Linked DNA regions of Homo sapiens: region 2 is linked to region 1. The links are contacts of gene promoters, found by promoter capture Hi-C in human tissues and cell types (Jung and others, 2019). All regions are on one chromosome and are shown on one strand. Each heading gives the region's core, a stretch centred on a gene start or on the middle of the fragment in contact. The rest is flanking DNA. Distances are from core to core; before and after follow the strand shown.

Region 1 (7,080 bases), core at 2,950-5,449:
TGGCGGGCGGGCGCCTATAATTCTAGCTACTCGGGAGGCTGAGGCAGAGAACTGCTTAAACCCGGGAGGTGGAGGTTGCAGTGAGCCGAGAACACGCCATTGCACTCCAGCCTAGGCAACAGAGCAAGACTGTGTCTGAAAAAAAAAAAAAAAAAGAAGAAGAAGAAGAATGAGGAGGATTCTAATAAATGTAAAGAAAGCAGGGAAAGGGGCATCCTGAGGAAGACTAAGATGACACCAAACATATGGAGAAAGAACTGCAGGCAGGTCTGAAGAAAAGTGAGGAAGCCAATTAGGTTATCGCCAAGAAGCACTACAAATGTCACCTCTATGCCAAGCCTCCTCCTCTATGCTCATGTAGCTCTTTATTCTTCCTTCTATTACAGTGTGTGACATTATAATTATGTTCTCACATAGTTGTCCACTAATATAAATCCCTTTAGTGCAGGGAGAATTATTTTTTTGAGACAGAGTCTCACTATGTTGCTGTTGCCCAGGCTGGGCTCGAACTCCGGGGCTTAAGCAATTCTCGGGCCTCATCCTCCCAAGTAACTGGCACTATGGCATGTGCCACCATTCCAGCTAGGATTTCATTTTTAAATTTTCCACAATGCCTTACCACAGTGTCTAATATGCAGATGTTCAATACATACATTTTGACTAAATTAGTTTAAAATATATATATAAATAAATAAATATATATATATATAAAATTGCACCAACCTTTAAGTCAAAGTAATACAGCACATAATTTACAATACAAAATGATATTTCAATACTACTTCAGGGGCCGGGCGTGGTGGTTCACGCCTGTAATCCTAGCACTTTGGGAGGCTGAGGCAGGCAGATCACTTGAGGTCAGGAGTTCGAGACCAGCCTGGGCAACATGGTGAAACCCCATCTCTACTAAAAATACAAAAATTAGCCAGGCATGGTGGTGCATGCCTGTAGTCCCAGGTACTCGGGAGGCTGAGGCAGGAGAACTGCTTGAACCCGGAAGGCGGAGGTTGCAGTACACCGAGATCGTGCCACTGCATTCCAGACTGGGTGACAGACAAAGACTCTGTCTCAAAAAAATAAGTAAATAAATAAAATGAAATAAAAATAAATAAATAGGCCAGGCACATTGGCTCACACCCGTAATCCCAGTACTTTGGGAGGCTGAGGCAGGTGGATCACCTGAGGTCAGGAGTTCAAGACCAGCCTGGCCAACATGGTGAAATCTTGTCTCTACTAAAAATTAGCCGGGCATGGTGGCATGTGCCTTCAGTCCCAGCCACTCAGGAGGCTGAGGCAGAAGAATCACTTGAACCCGGGAGGCGGAGGTTGCAGTGAGCCGAGATCGCGCCACTATACTCCAGCCTGGGCAACAGAGTGAGACTCCGTATCAAAAATAAATAAAATAAATACTACTTCAGCATCTCAATCAAAGCTACCAGGGTATAGATTATTTAAAAGAAAAAAAAAAAAAGAAATAGGCCAGACACGGTGGCTCACGCCTGTAATTCCAACACTTTGGGAAGCTGAGGTGGGTGGATCACCTGAGGTCAGGAGTTTGAGACCAGCCTGGCCAACATGGCGAAACCCCATCTCTACTAAAAATACAAAAATTAGCCAGGCATGGTGGCACATGCCTATAATCCCAGGTACTCTGGAGGCAGAAGCAGGAGAATCACCTGAACCCGGGAGGCATGGGCTGCAGTGAGCCAGGATTGCGCCACTACACTCCAGCCTGGGTGACAGAGTGAGACTCCATCTCAAAAAACAAACAAACAAACAAACAAAAAAAACAGCTACTCAGGAGGCTGAGGCAGGAGAATCGCTGGAACCCAGGAGGTGGAGGTTGCAGTGAGCCAACATTGCGCCACTGCACTCCAGCCTGGCGACAGAGCGAGACTCCATCTCAAAAAAAAAAAAAAAAACAAAGCAAACAAACAAACAAAAAAAACAATGCTCTAGACTTTCTAGCATATTTGCTGATATAGCAGAGTAAACAGGATATTAACAAAAGCAAAGCAAGTCCCACAATGATTTCCAAACATCTTGTATGTGATACTAACCTGTACCTCTGAAAATCTCCATGCCGTAAACCATGCTGCTGCTGGGATTCCTTAATAATCTGAAGAACTAGAGTCGAGATTAAGGAAAATCTTACCATAGCAAGAATCCAAACAAATCAAAACCTGTACCATCAGTCTATATCTGTGTCAAACCACAACACATTAAACATTTGTGAAATATAGCCAGGTACGGTGGCTCATGCCTGTAATCCCAGCACTGTGGGAGGCCGAGGCGGGTGTATCACCTGAGGTCAGGAGTTCAAGACCAGCCTGGCCAGCATGGTGAAACCCCGTCTCTACTAAAAACACAAAAAATTAGCCGGGCGCAATGGCTAGCACCTGTAATCCCAGCTACTCGGGAGGCTGAGGCAGGAGAATCGCTTGAACTTGGAAGGCAGAGGTTGCAATGAGCCAAGACAGCGCCACTGCACTCCAGCCTAGGTGAGAGTGAGATTCAGTCACACATGCACATGCACACACACACACACACACACACACACACAAATTTGTGAAATATTTAGTACACTGGTGAGATCTTTTGTAACCATTTTCAATATCTATCTTGTCACAGGACAGGGCTAACCTACAGGAAAACTGATTGCCTGAACTGTTACTACTTGCAAACTGAAAAAGGAGGGCACTACTGGCCACTGGAAACTGCCAAAACCCAGTTTAAATTAAGCTGATGGATTCTAAATGCTGACTATAATTGGGGTGCTTCACACCAATTAACACCTAGACCCCACATTTTATTCATTCAGATTCAGGTTATAAATGACATGTACTAAGCCTCCATTTGCATAATCTCCAACACCTGCCAAATCTAACTTTCCTTAACAGCTGTGATGCTTAGAGAGTCTATGATTAGCACATGTCAACCAAGCTAGGCTACAGTTTGCATAAAAGTATTAAGGTTTTTCTTTCAAAAGAAGAATGGCCAGATTCTCCTTTTAATAATCTTAAAATATTTAAGATTATGTACTAATCTTTAGAAAGTCCAATGACCTTCATCTATATAGGTATAGTTTTAATGTTTCCTCAACACTTCTCTAGAGACATATTTTAAAATAGTGAACGCTAAAAGGACTCTTTAAATTACTAAAACGGGACAAAGAGATATAAAGGTCTCAGTAAAATCAGGGCTCGCTAGCGTCTACTTGGAACTATTACCAGTAATTCAAAATATTTAACTCCAAGCGCCTGAGAACTTTAAGCACATTAAGATGTCAAGTTGAATGTGTTATTTCAGAAACTCGCCTACGTTTTCTCCATTTGTTATTCATTTCAAAAGGTCACAAACTAGTACCACAAGCACTTGGTTGAGATACACACTGATGGAAACTAGAAACCGATTCCTCCAGCTTATATGAATGACTGTCAGCAAGATAAAATGCCTACAGACCGATCAGAAAAAAATGACACAATCGATATTAACTACGGTAACTTACAATCAAAATGGGCAACAAGCTTTTCCTGAGTCAATCTTTACCTCCACTTTCAAAGTATCGAGCTGTAGGTTTTACTACTCAGTCTATGACGACTGTCAGACAAGAGTATTAAGCCAAATGTCAAGACTGCAGTTTCCTCTCCCCAGTTCAGTGGCTCAAGGTGCCAAAGCAAGGTGCTCAAGGTGTCACTTGGTCACAAGCCCTCCAACTGGACAACTGCGGGGCACCAGGGGAAACCTGCCTGATATCCCAGTGCCACTGGAAGAAACGGACCTAGCCAGGACGGCGAGGGGGACACGAGGAAAGACTAGTCGAGAGACAGACCCCCCCCGGAATTCTGAGCACCAAAAGGTAAGGGCGAGAGAAACTGCAACCCTCGGCCTCTCCTGCCAGGACTTGTCGGGACCCGCCGCCTCTCCCGCCCCCAGCCCTCCAGTTCGACACGTAATCATTGCGAGTTAGGCCCGATTACTCTAGGATACTCTCCAAACTCAGGCTATCCCCAAATTCTTTGTTTGCCTTCGATCCGGCCGAAGGGCGTTCGTTTTCTTTATTTTCTTCCCCTCCGGCACCACGTCCACCGCCGCTACCGCCGCCGCCACTGCCACCGCCGCCGCCACTGCCGCCGCCGCCGCCGCCGCCTGGGACCTGCTTCTCAGCAGCCATCTTGCCCCTGCGCCGCAGAGCAAGACGGGATAGGGGAGGCGGGACGACCTGGGCGGGTGAGAGCTGGACCTGCCTGGCCGGGCTGATGGGATAGCGGCGGACTCCGCCGCCGTCGGCCCTTGCTGCAGCAGGGCGCCATGTGCTGGAGCGCGCCTGCGCGAGGGATCCTGTCATCCCGGGTCCGGAATTGTGGCTGGCTAGGTGGGGACTTGAGGCCGCAGTGAGACCGTGGCTGCTGAGATCTCAGGGGGCAGTCCCACCTCCCACCCACTAAGGGCGGAGAACCGGAGGTGGACCCCAGGTCCTGCATCCTGGACTGGGGATCTGGTTCACGTCCTGCCCAGCAGAAAGCAGGAGACCAAAGATACTGGATTTCGGGGTGTCTGCATCCCCAGGGACTCAAGAGATGGGGTCCTCCCTACCGGAACGGGACACCCCGTCCGTAAGGGACCCGCCTCTGCCTGCCCTTTCCTCTGAGGCTGGCCGTAAGAACGCCAAGCCGGAGGAAGCGCTGCGCAGTCAGCAGACGGTGTCCTAACGGGGTGACTTTCTCAGACCGCTTGGGGCCGTGGACCACTGCACTTTGGGGCCGTCAGTCCAAAGAGGGAGAAGTGTTGAGACATGGGAAAATATGAATTTTTGCTTTGCACCTTCTAGAGTCTGAGACCTGGGATTCCAATCCCCGCTCCGTCATTAGCGGCAGGGACATGTTGGGCACGTAACTTAATCTCCCTGTAAATCTGTTCCTTCATCTATGAAATGGGGATAACCAATTTAAGTGGTTGTTAGGAAGATTAAATGACGGATTTTTTTTTTTTTTTTAGATAGAGTTTCGCTCTTGTTGCCCAGGCTGGAGTGCAATGGTGTGATCTCGGCTCACTGCAACCTCTGCCTCCTGGGTTCAAGCCATTCTCCTGCCTCAGCCTCCCGAGTAGCTGGGATTACAGGCGCCTGCCACCACGTCCCGCTAATTTTTGTATTTTTAGTGGAGACGGGGTTTCACCATGTTGGTCAGGATGGTCTCGATCTCCTGACCTCGTGATCCGCCCGCCTCGGCCTCCCAAAGTGCTGGGATTACAGGCGTGAACCACCGCGCCCGGCCCTGAACTCTATTTTGAATTTCCTCAAGGTATACGGAATAAGGTCAGGAGAAAAAGAATAAGGATCTGATGCATTCAGATTTAACTAACTCTCCCATACATCTCATTCCTTTCTCAGCAGATCCCTCTTAGAAGGAAGTGTTACCATTTCCTTGTTACAGCTGAGGAAACTGAGGCATGGAGCCAAAGACAGAGCCTGACACAATAGATGCTCAGTATATTGGATTGAATTGGAGGGAAAACGTTCAATGGGTAAGAGAAGGGAAAAAGGTGGCCGGGCTCGGTGGCTTACGCCTGTAATCCCAGCACTTTGGGAGGCCGAGGTGGGCGGATCACTTGAGGTCAGGAGTTTGAGACCAGCTTGGCCAACATGGTGAAACCCCATTTCTACTAAAAATACGAAAATAAGCCAGGCGTGGTGGCAGGCGCCCGTCATCCCAGCTACTCGGGAGGCTGAGGCAGGAGGATCGCTTGAACCCGGGAGGCGGAGGTTGCAGTGAGCCGATATCATGCCACTACACTCCAGCCTGGGCGACAGAGTGAGACTCTGTCTCAACAAATACAAATACAAAAAACTAGCCAGACGTTGTGGCGGACGCCTGTAGTCCCAGCCCCTCAGAAGGCCGAGGCAGGAGAACCGTTTGAACCCGGGAGACGGAGGTTGCAGTGAGCCGAGATCGCGCCACTGCACTCTAGCCTGGGCGAAAGAGCCAGACTCCGGGGCCCCTCATCCGCCTCCGCCCCGCGTTTCCTCCCCCCGATCTCCCAGGGGTCCTCTTTTGAGGGCACCCCAGCCCCTCGACGGTCCCGGGATATCCTGCACCCCTGCCAGGCTGCAGGGAAGCGCCGAGGCGCGCGGAGTGCGAGGTCCGTGCTCCCTGCGGCGCGGCGCACACGCAGGGTCCGGGGTCGACCCCTCCACCGCTCCGGCGTCTGCCGGGGAAGTCAGTCCGCCTGGTCAGCCCAGAACCCCCGACTGCGGGGGCTGGAGCTCGGAAGCAGGTACAAGCGCCACTCTCCGCCTGCGCCGTGGAATGCGCGCCGGGACCACTCCGCAGCCCTTCCCCCAGCGCCGCCGGCCGCTGCTGGGGACAACCTCGCCCTCCTGTCTCTTGCTCCTCCTCCTGACCCCAGCGCACCCCCATCCCCGCCCCAGATGAGGCAAGGCTCCCTCCGCCTTCAGCCCGGCAGAGTCGCACTAGGAGTTGCAGCGGCCGCAGCCCCGGGAGCTTCCCGCTCGCGGAGACCCAGACGGCTGCAGGAGCCCGGGCAGCCTCGGGGTCAGCGGCACCATGAACGTCTCGGGCTGCCCAGGGGCCGGGAACGCGAGCCAGGCGGGCGGCGGGGGAGGCTGGCACCCCGAGGCGGTCATCGTGCCCCTGCTCTTCGCGCTCATCTTCCTCGTGGGCACCGTGGGCAACACGCTGGTGCTGGCGGTGCTGCTGCGCGGCGGCCAGGCGGTCAGCACTACCAACCTGTTCATCCTTAACCTGGGCGTGGCCGACCTGTGTTTCATCCTGTGCTGCGTGCCCTTCCAGGCCACCATCTACACCCTGGACGGCTGGGTGTTCGGCTCGCTGCTGTGCAAGGCGGTGCACTTCCTCATCTTCCTCACCATGCACGCCAGCAGCTTCACGCTGGCCGCCGTCTCCCTGGACAGGTGAGCCAGCGCCTTGGCCTCCCTGGGAGATGGGCATCCACGCGGGGGATGGAGCGGGAGGCGGGACTGGGGACCAAGAAGGGACGCGCAGAGTGGGACAGGACACTAAGAAGGCAGTGGAAGACAAGCGGGCGCGGAGGAGGAAA
Region 2 (7,080 bases), core at 1,446-3,945, 150 kb after region 1:
TGCAGAACTCAACTAAAATACACCCTTGCCTATTTGCTAACGGGAAAAAAACATATGTCACTAGTAGATAAACTTCGAGTGTTTCATTATTAGTGAGCTATAATTTATTAATCAAAACTCATATTCAGAATTCTTTGCAGGCTTTAAAAAGTCACATCATACACATATCTCCAAGATTATACGTAAACCGTAAGGTATGAGTGGGAAGGAGAAAGGGGAAATTAATGTTTAACAAGTACATAGTTTTAGTTTTATAAAATAAAAAAGTTCTAGACATCTGTTGCAAAACAGAGTGAATATATGTAACACTAATGAATGCTTAAAAATGGTTACTATGATTAAATTTAACGTTATGTGTTTTTTTGCCACAATAATAAACACATAAATATCAAGAAAAAAAACCAAAAGGTATGAGCCAGAATGATCAACACTAAGACAAGTTCAGTAAAATGACTGACCTTTAAAGAAAGAAAGGCACCCAGGCAAAAAGTCAAAATTCTAGAGGGGAAGAAAATCGGTGTCATCAGACTTTTCAACAGAAACACTTTATGTCAGAAGACAAGGGAGTAACATTCTAAGGTAGTCAAAGAAAGAAAAGCCCCTGAGCTCATCTGAGGAGTCTACTAAGGAATAAGCTTCCAGGCCAAGCCCAGTGGCTCACGCCTGCAATCCCAGTACTTTGGGAGGCCAAGGCAGGAGGATTGCTTGAGCCCAGAAGTTCAAGATCAGCCTGGGCAACATAGCAAGACCTCATCTCTACAATAAAAAAATTAAAAAGTTAGCCAGGCATGGTGGCATGTGCTTGTGGTCCTAGATACTCGGGAAGCTAAGGTGGGAGGATTGCTGGAGGTCAAGGCAGGAGTGAGCTATGATCACACCCCTGGACTCCAGCCTGGGCAACAGAGTGAGACTCTGTCTCAATAAAGGAAAAACAGGCCAGGCATGGTGGCTCACACCTGTAATCCCAGCACTTTGGGAGGCCAAGGTGGGCAGATCAACTGAGGTCAGGAGTTTGAGACCAGCCTGTCCACCATAGTGAAACTTCGTCTCTACTAAAAATACAAAAATTAGCCGGGAGTGATGGCATGTGTCTGTAGTCCCAGCTACTCGGGAGGCTGAGGCAGAAGAATCACTTGAACCCGGGAAGTGGAGGTTGCAGTGGGCCAAGATCACACCACGGCACTCCAGCCTGGGTGACAGAGCAAGACTCCATCTCAAAAAAATAAAAAAAAATAAAAAATAAAAACAAAGAAAATACAGTACAGCTCTCAAAAAATAAAGAAGGGGGATGGATAGCAGAGAAAAAGCAGAATATGTTTGCTGACAAACTTTAGGTGTAAGTGAGAGTCAAAGGAGATACTTCAAATGCTGGAGTAAAGAGGAGAGGTGAGTGAAGAGGTTACTAGTTATATCCATATTATTCACAGTAGGAAACTAACAGACAAAAATAATAATAATAACAATTTAACAGCAGTATATAAAGATTAAATAAGGGTAACCATTAGAGAAAAATACAAACCTTCCTAAATCCAAAAAATACATCTTAAAAAAAGAGCAAACAAAACAGACTACATAAAGACTATATAAATTTTTACATATATTTATATACATATAAATATAACATAAAATGGCCAGCCTTAAGCCAAACATATCAATCATATCAATAAATACAAATAGGCTTAATTTATATTATGCTACCATGTGTGTAAGGAAGAGTGGCTATGAAGATATATACATATTAATTAATATTTTTAAAACAAGCAATGTAAGGATAAATCATAATAATCTTAAAGTGATTATCTATAGGAGGAGGGAGGGAACGAAGTAGAAGGGACCAGACAGAAGGTAGATTTCTTTGAATACGCATTGCTTTATGTATCTACCACTGGAACCATGTAAACATTTTACATAATTATAAAATTAAAATTTCTGTAAAGCAATCCCTAAAAATCAAAAGTAAAGTGAAACAAATGAACCTAGGTGTGTGTGTAGTGGAATAACTACAGAAAGAGAAACTATTCCCAAGAACTTTAAGAGACTGTAATTTAACTGTACATCTCAATAGGAAAGAAAACTGCGAAAAATATATCTCAAACAGTTTACAGTAATCATATTATTGGTGACAGTATTTTCTTCCGAGAATGTGGCATTAAGCAGATGAGTAATTATGTGATTTTCAATTTTATCATACCTAGCGTATTGAGAATCAGAGAGAAAGTTAAAAAAAGCCAAGGTTAAACAAAAACCATATAGTCCTGAATTTGTATTAGAAATATCAATAAAAATGCATGATGTGTATTTTATCTTTACAAACAATGTTTCCTAGCTTGGGCCACTGAAAAGGCCTAGAAACATAGACCAACAAAGTAGGAGGGGGTGCCGCTAGCATCCAGCCTGTAAGTCTGCAAAAGTCATTCCCCACTAACAGGAACAAGGGCTCTTTGGAGGCCACATTCCAAGTCTGTGGCAGGAAATACACAAGATGGGACTAGAACATCTTGTCATACCAGATAACAAGGACGCTCTCTAAACCTACTAGGGTCATATCCAAGGGACTCAAGAGCTGACTTAAAGAGGTTCCCGCAGAGCAAAGATGGAATATATTAAGCTTCATCAGGATAATAAGGGCAAGGAATAAGTCTAAGTCAATGAGTTCGTAATGATATCTAAAAAAAAAAAAAAAAAAAGGTTACCTTTGAAGGATGCTAGTAAACCAATTCATTATTTTGGAAACTAGCAATTAAAGGGAAAGCCTCAAGCATTTATCTTGCCTTTCCTACATGAACTGTACCTCTGGGTGAGTGAATAATTAATAGATGAGGGGAGGCCGGGTACCATGGCTCACACCTGTAATCCCAGCACTTGGGAAGGCCTTGAGCCCAGAAGTTTGAGACCAGCCGAGGCAACATGGCAAGACACTGTCTCTACAAATTTATTATTTTTTTTTTTTTAGTTAGCTGGGCCAGGCGCAGTGGCTCACGCCTGTAATCCCAACACTTTGGGAGGCCGAGGTGGGTGGATCACGAGGTCAGGAGTTTGACACCAGCCTGGCCAACATGGTGAAACCCTGTCTCTACTAAAAATACAAAAATTAGCTGGGTGTGGTAGTGTGCACCTTTAATCCCAGCTACTCAGGAGGCTGAAACAGGAGAATCACTTGAACCGGGGAGGCAGAGGTTGTAGTGAGCCGAGATTGCGCCATTGTACTCTGACCTGGGCAATAAAGTGAGATGCTGTCTCAAAAAAAAAAAAAAAATTAGCCGGCTTGGTGGCAAGGGCCTTGGTCCTAGCTATTCAGGAGGCTGAGGCGGGAGAATTACTTGAACTCAGTAGGTCAAGGCTGCAGTGAACCGTGTTTGCACCACTGCACTCCAGCCTGGGCAACAGAGACCCTATTTCAAAACAAAAAGAAAAGGTAGATGAGGGAAAGTTTCTCTTTACAGAAATATTCTAGCTAATAAACAAAGAAGGAATGATAGGATTAGAATGTAAGTCTTAATAAATTAATAAATCATCCATTACCAAACCTCTCCCCCACAAAAAAGACAACCAGATACACGCTAGTGACAGCAAATACAACAAAGTAGTCTTACCAAAGTAAGTAGCTTCAAATTTTAAAGCTTTAAAAAAAATGAACTTGATCAAGCTGCTGAAACCAGTTAACCACCAGCTTATAGGGAATAAAACAGAACATGATTAATGAGAGTTCAAGGAGGCAACTGGCAAAACTCAGGCTGCAGAAAACCTTAACAAGAAAAATGACCAGGTTTCCTCAAAGAATATATTGTAAGGGGGGAAAGTATGGCAACAGAAAATCCAAAGTACAGACTTTATTTTATTAAACCCTTTAATTTCCAAATATTTTACTGTATACAATCAACAAAAACCAGGACTTTCTTGGTACCAGCTATTGTTCATGCTCCTTCATTGGTTCTTCTAAAATAACTATAAGAAATAAAATACAAGGAAATAATAGATGTTTAAATCATATGGGTTCACAGAAGTACTATTTATAATAATCAAAAGGTGGAAACAAATGTCAAACAACAAATGGGTAAACAAAATGTGAGGTATAATGTGTCCGACATATGTCCTTACAACGGAATATTATTCAGCCATAAAAAGAAGTGAAGTTCTGATACATGCTACAACATGAATGAACCTCCAAAACAGTATGCTGAGACAAAGAAGCCAAACACAAAAGGTCACATACTGTAGTATGATTCCATGTATATGAAATATCCAGATAGGTAAATCCACAGAGAGAGTAGACTGGTGATTGCCAGGGGATGGGGGCAGGGGAGAGTGGGGACAAACTGCTTAATTGGTTTTATTTTGAGGTGATAAAAATGTTCTAGAGGCCGGGCGCAGTGGCGCACACCTTTTGGGAGGCTGAGGCAGGTGGATCACTTAAGGTCAGGAGTTCGAGACCAGCCTGGCCAACATGAAGCAACCCCGTCTCTACTAAAAATACAAAAATGAGCTGGGTGTAGTGGCACACGCCTGTGATCCCAGCTACTTGGGAGGCTGAGGCACAAGAACAGCTTGAACCTGGGAGGCAGAAGTTGCAGTGAGCTGAGGATCGTGTCACTGCACTCCAGCCTGGGTGACAGAGCAAGACCCCGTCTCAAAAAAAAAAAAAAAAAGTTCTAGAATAGAGGTAGTGGATTGTGCAACACTGTGAATGTTCAAAATGCCACTGAGTCGTTCACTTTAAGATAATTTTATGTTACGTGAACTTCGCCTCAATTTTAAAAAATCACATGGGGAGGAAGAATTTGGCACAGTCAGGTTATAATGCTGTCATTTGAATTTTTATTTTAACTTCCAAGCATGTATCGTAAGCAAGATACAGAACTTTACCAAAATTATCCCTGATTTTCATCTGTAAGATATTCTCTTACGTCCATTTTTCAGTTGAGGAAACTAAGGATTAGAAGAGTTCAGTGACTCACACAACGTCCCACAGTTAAGAAACAGCAGAGACCGAGAGATGCAAGGTTTGAACCGAAGGTCTGGCTAACTCCACATCTCAACCCTGCACCTGTCTCTCCATCTGACAGTGGCAAAGAATAGCATGTGTGTGAGAGAAATGAAATCAAACAACTGTGTGTGTGTGTAAATGTAATGTCTATTATTTCATATATATGTGGAAGACGAGCCAAATGTTTAAGGTTCTTTTTTTTTTTTTGAGACAGAGTCTCGCTCTGTTGCCCAGGTTGGAGTGCAGAGGCCCGATCCTGGCTCACTGCAAGCTCCGCCTCCTGGGTTCACGCCGTTCTCCTGCCTCAGCCTTCCGAGTAGCTGGGACTACAGGCGCCCGCCACCATGCCTGGCTAATTTTTTGTATTTTTAGTAGAGACGGGGTTTCACCGTGTTAGCCAGGATGGTTTTGATCTCCTGACCTCGTGATCCGCCCACCTGGGCCTCCCAAAGTGCTGGGATTACAGGGGTGAGCCACCGCACCCGGCCTTTTTTTTTTTTTTTTGAGACGTAGTCTCACTCTGTCACCCAGGCTGGAGTGCAGTAGTCCAATCTCTGCTCGCTGCAACATCCGCCTCCCAGGTTCAAGTGATTCTTCTGCCTCAGCCTTGCAAGTAGCTGGGATTACAGGCATGTGCCACCAAACCTGGCTAATTTTTGTATTTTTAGTAGAGACGGGGTTTCACCATGTTGGCCAGACTGGTCTCGAACTCCTGACCTCAGGTGATCCATCCGCCTCGGCCTCCCAAAGTGCTGGGATTACAGGCATGGGCCACCATGCTCGGCCAAGGTTCTTTACACATAAACAATACCTGACTCTTCCTTTTCCTGTACTGTAATAGGAAAAAAGAAAGAGGGATAATGAATTGATGATAAAATGCTTAACCATATAAAACCCAAATTTTTTTCTTTCTGACAAACAGGAATTGTAAATCAAACCCCTTAGTCTCAAAAACATTTTGTTTTCCACATAAACGTTAAATATTGTGTTTTACATATCTAGTGGAAGAACCACTAAGTTCAACGTACAGCCTCCCTGTTCAGAATAAAATATGGAATATAATGAAACAAAAAACCAAACAGACTGCACTGCCCAACTTTATATTTTTGGAAACAAAAGCAAAATAACTCTGAACCTCAGTAAAAAATGTTAGAACATGCAGTGTTTTCAACACATACACAATTCATATACAACTTTGCAGAGCACCATCAGAAAGAAGTAAGTATAATAACACAGGGCAAGGCCCACACTGGCCAGAGCAGCTCCAGACACTACTCCTTAACATCTGACTTTATCTTAGTCACTATCAGCACTTTCTGGCTCTACAAGAACTCAGGGCAATGCAAAGGGAACTTGCATTACACTGAGGGAGCCCTACCCTATCAATGGCAATTTTTGAAGCGAAAGCCCAAAATCAATAAATTGACTTCAACAAAGGAAAATCAACTATTTGTTCCTTATAATGTGAACAAAAAAGAAAAATCTCATTTAAAATTCATTGTATTAAATAATTTGCCTAATCATTTTGAATTTAAGTTTTTGGGACATATTCCTAATACCACAGTGAAATTAAATATTGAGCAATGGGTTCCCTAAATTATGTCTGCCTCAATAAGATATTGTGACATTTGTTAGCAAACCACTATGAATTATAACAACATATAATAAAGGACAATTAAACCCATTTTCTATTCTTCTACAATTCTATGGGAATCTATAGGCTATGGGAATCCTAGTAAATTTTCATATATTTGAAAAAATCTTCATCTACATGACATTTCAATAACAATAAGCTTTAGATCACAAAAATAAGAAGAAAACTAGAAAACTGCAAACACCTCTAAATATTCAGCTCAATTCTATAATGCTACAGTGCTGCTTTTGTTCTTCATTTTTAAGTTTTCCCCCTAGAGCAAGGGTGCCTAATCTTTTGACTTCCCTTGGCCACACTGGAAAAAGAAGAATGGTCTTACGCCACACTTGAAATACACTAACACTACTGATAGCTGATAAGCTTTAAAAAAAAAAAAGAAAGAAACTGCAAAAAAACTCATAATGTTTTAAGAAAGTTTACTAATTTGTGTTGCGCTGCATTC

The links. Contacts are between HindIII fragments. The study calls those that stand out against the background at their distance.
Region 2: a fragment that was not itself captured here is called in contact with the fragment with the promoter of SRP68 in region 1 in 4 of the 25 tissues and cell types used here (IMR-90 fibroblasts, hippocampus, lymphoblastoid cells and 1 more).

The regions. Positions count from the first base shown.
Region 1 is chr17:76,068,318-76,075,397 of GRCh38, forward strand. SRP68 (signal recognition particle 68) reads right to left here and starts at 4,200. Exons shown (of 16, transcript NM_014230.4): 1 at 3,991-4,200; 2 at 2,061-2,127. The coding sequence starts at 4,174. It overlaps GALR2 (galanin receptor 2), which reads left to right and starts at 6,464. Exons shown (of 2, transcript NM_003857.4): 1 at 6,464-6,934. The coding sequence starts at 6,567. RefSeq lists enhancers at 3,487-4,314, 4,313-4,362, 4,315-5,142, 6,529-7,080. The HindIII fragment of the contact is 13,843 bases long and covers 939-7,080 here.
Region 2 is chr17:76,217,718-76,224,797 of GRCh38, forward strand. All of the region lies in intron 1 of RNF157 (ring finger protein 157), which reads right to left. Among named protein-coding and RNA genes, the nearest start is that of RNF157, 19 kb to the right of the region's middle. The HindIII fragment of the contact is 5,006 bases long and covers 193-5,198 here.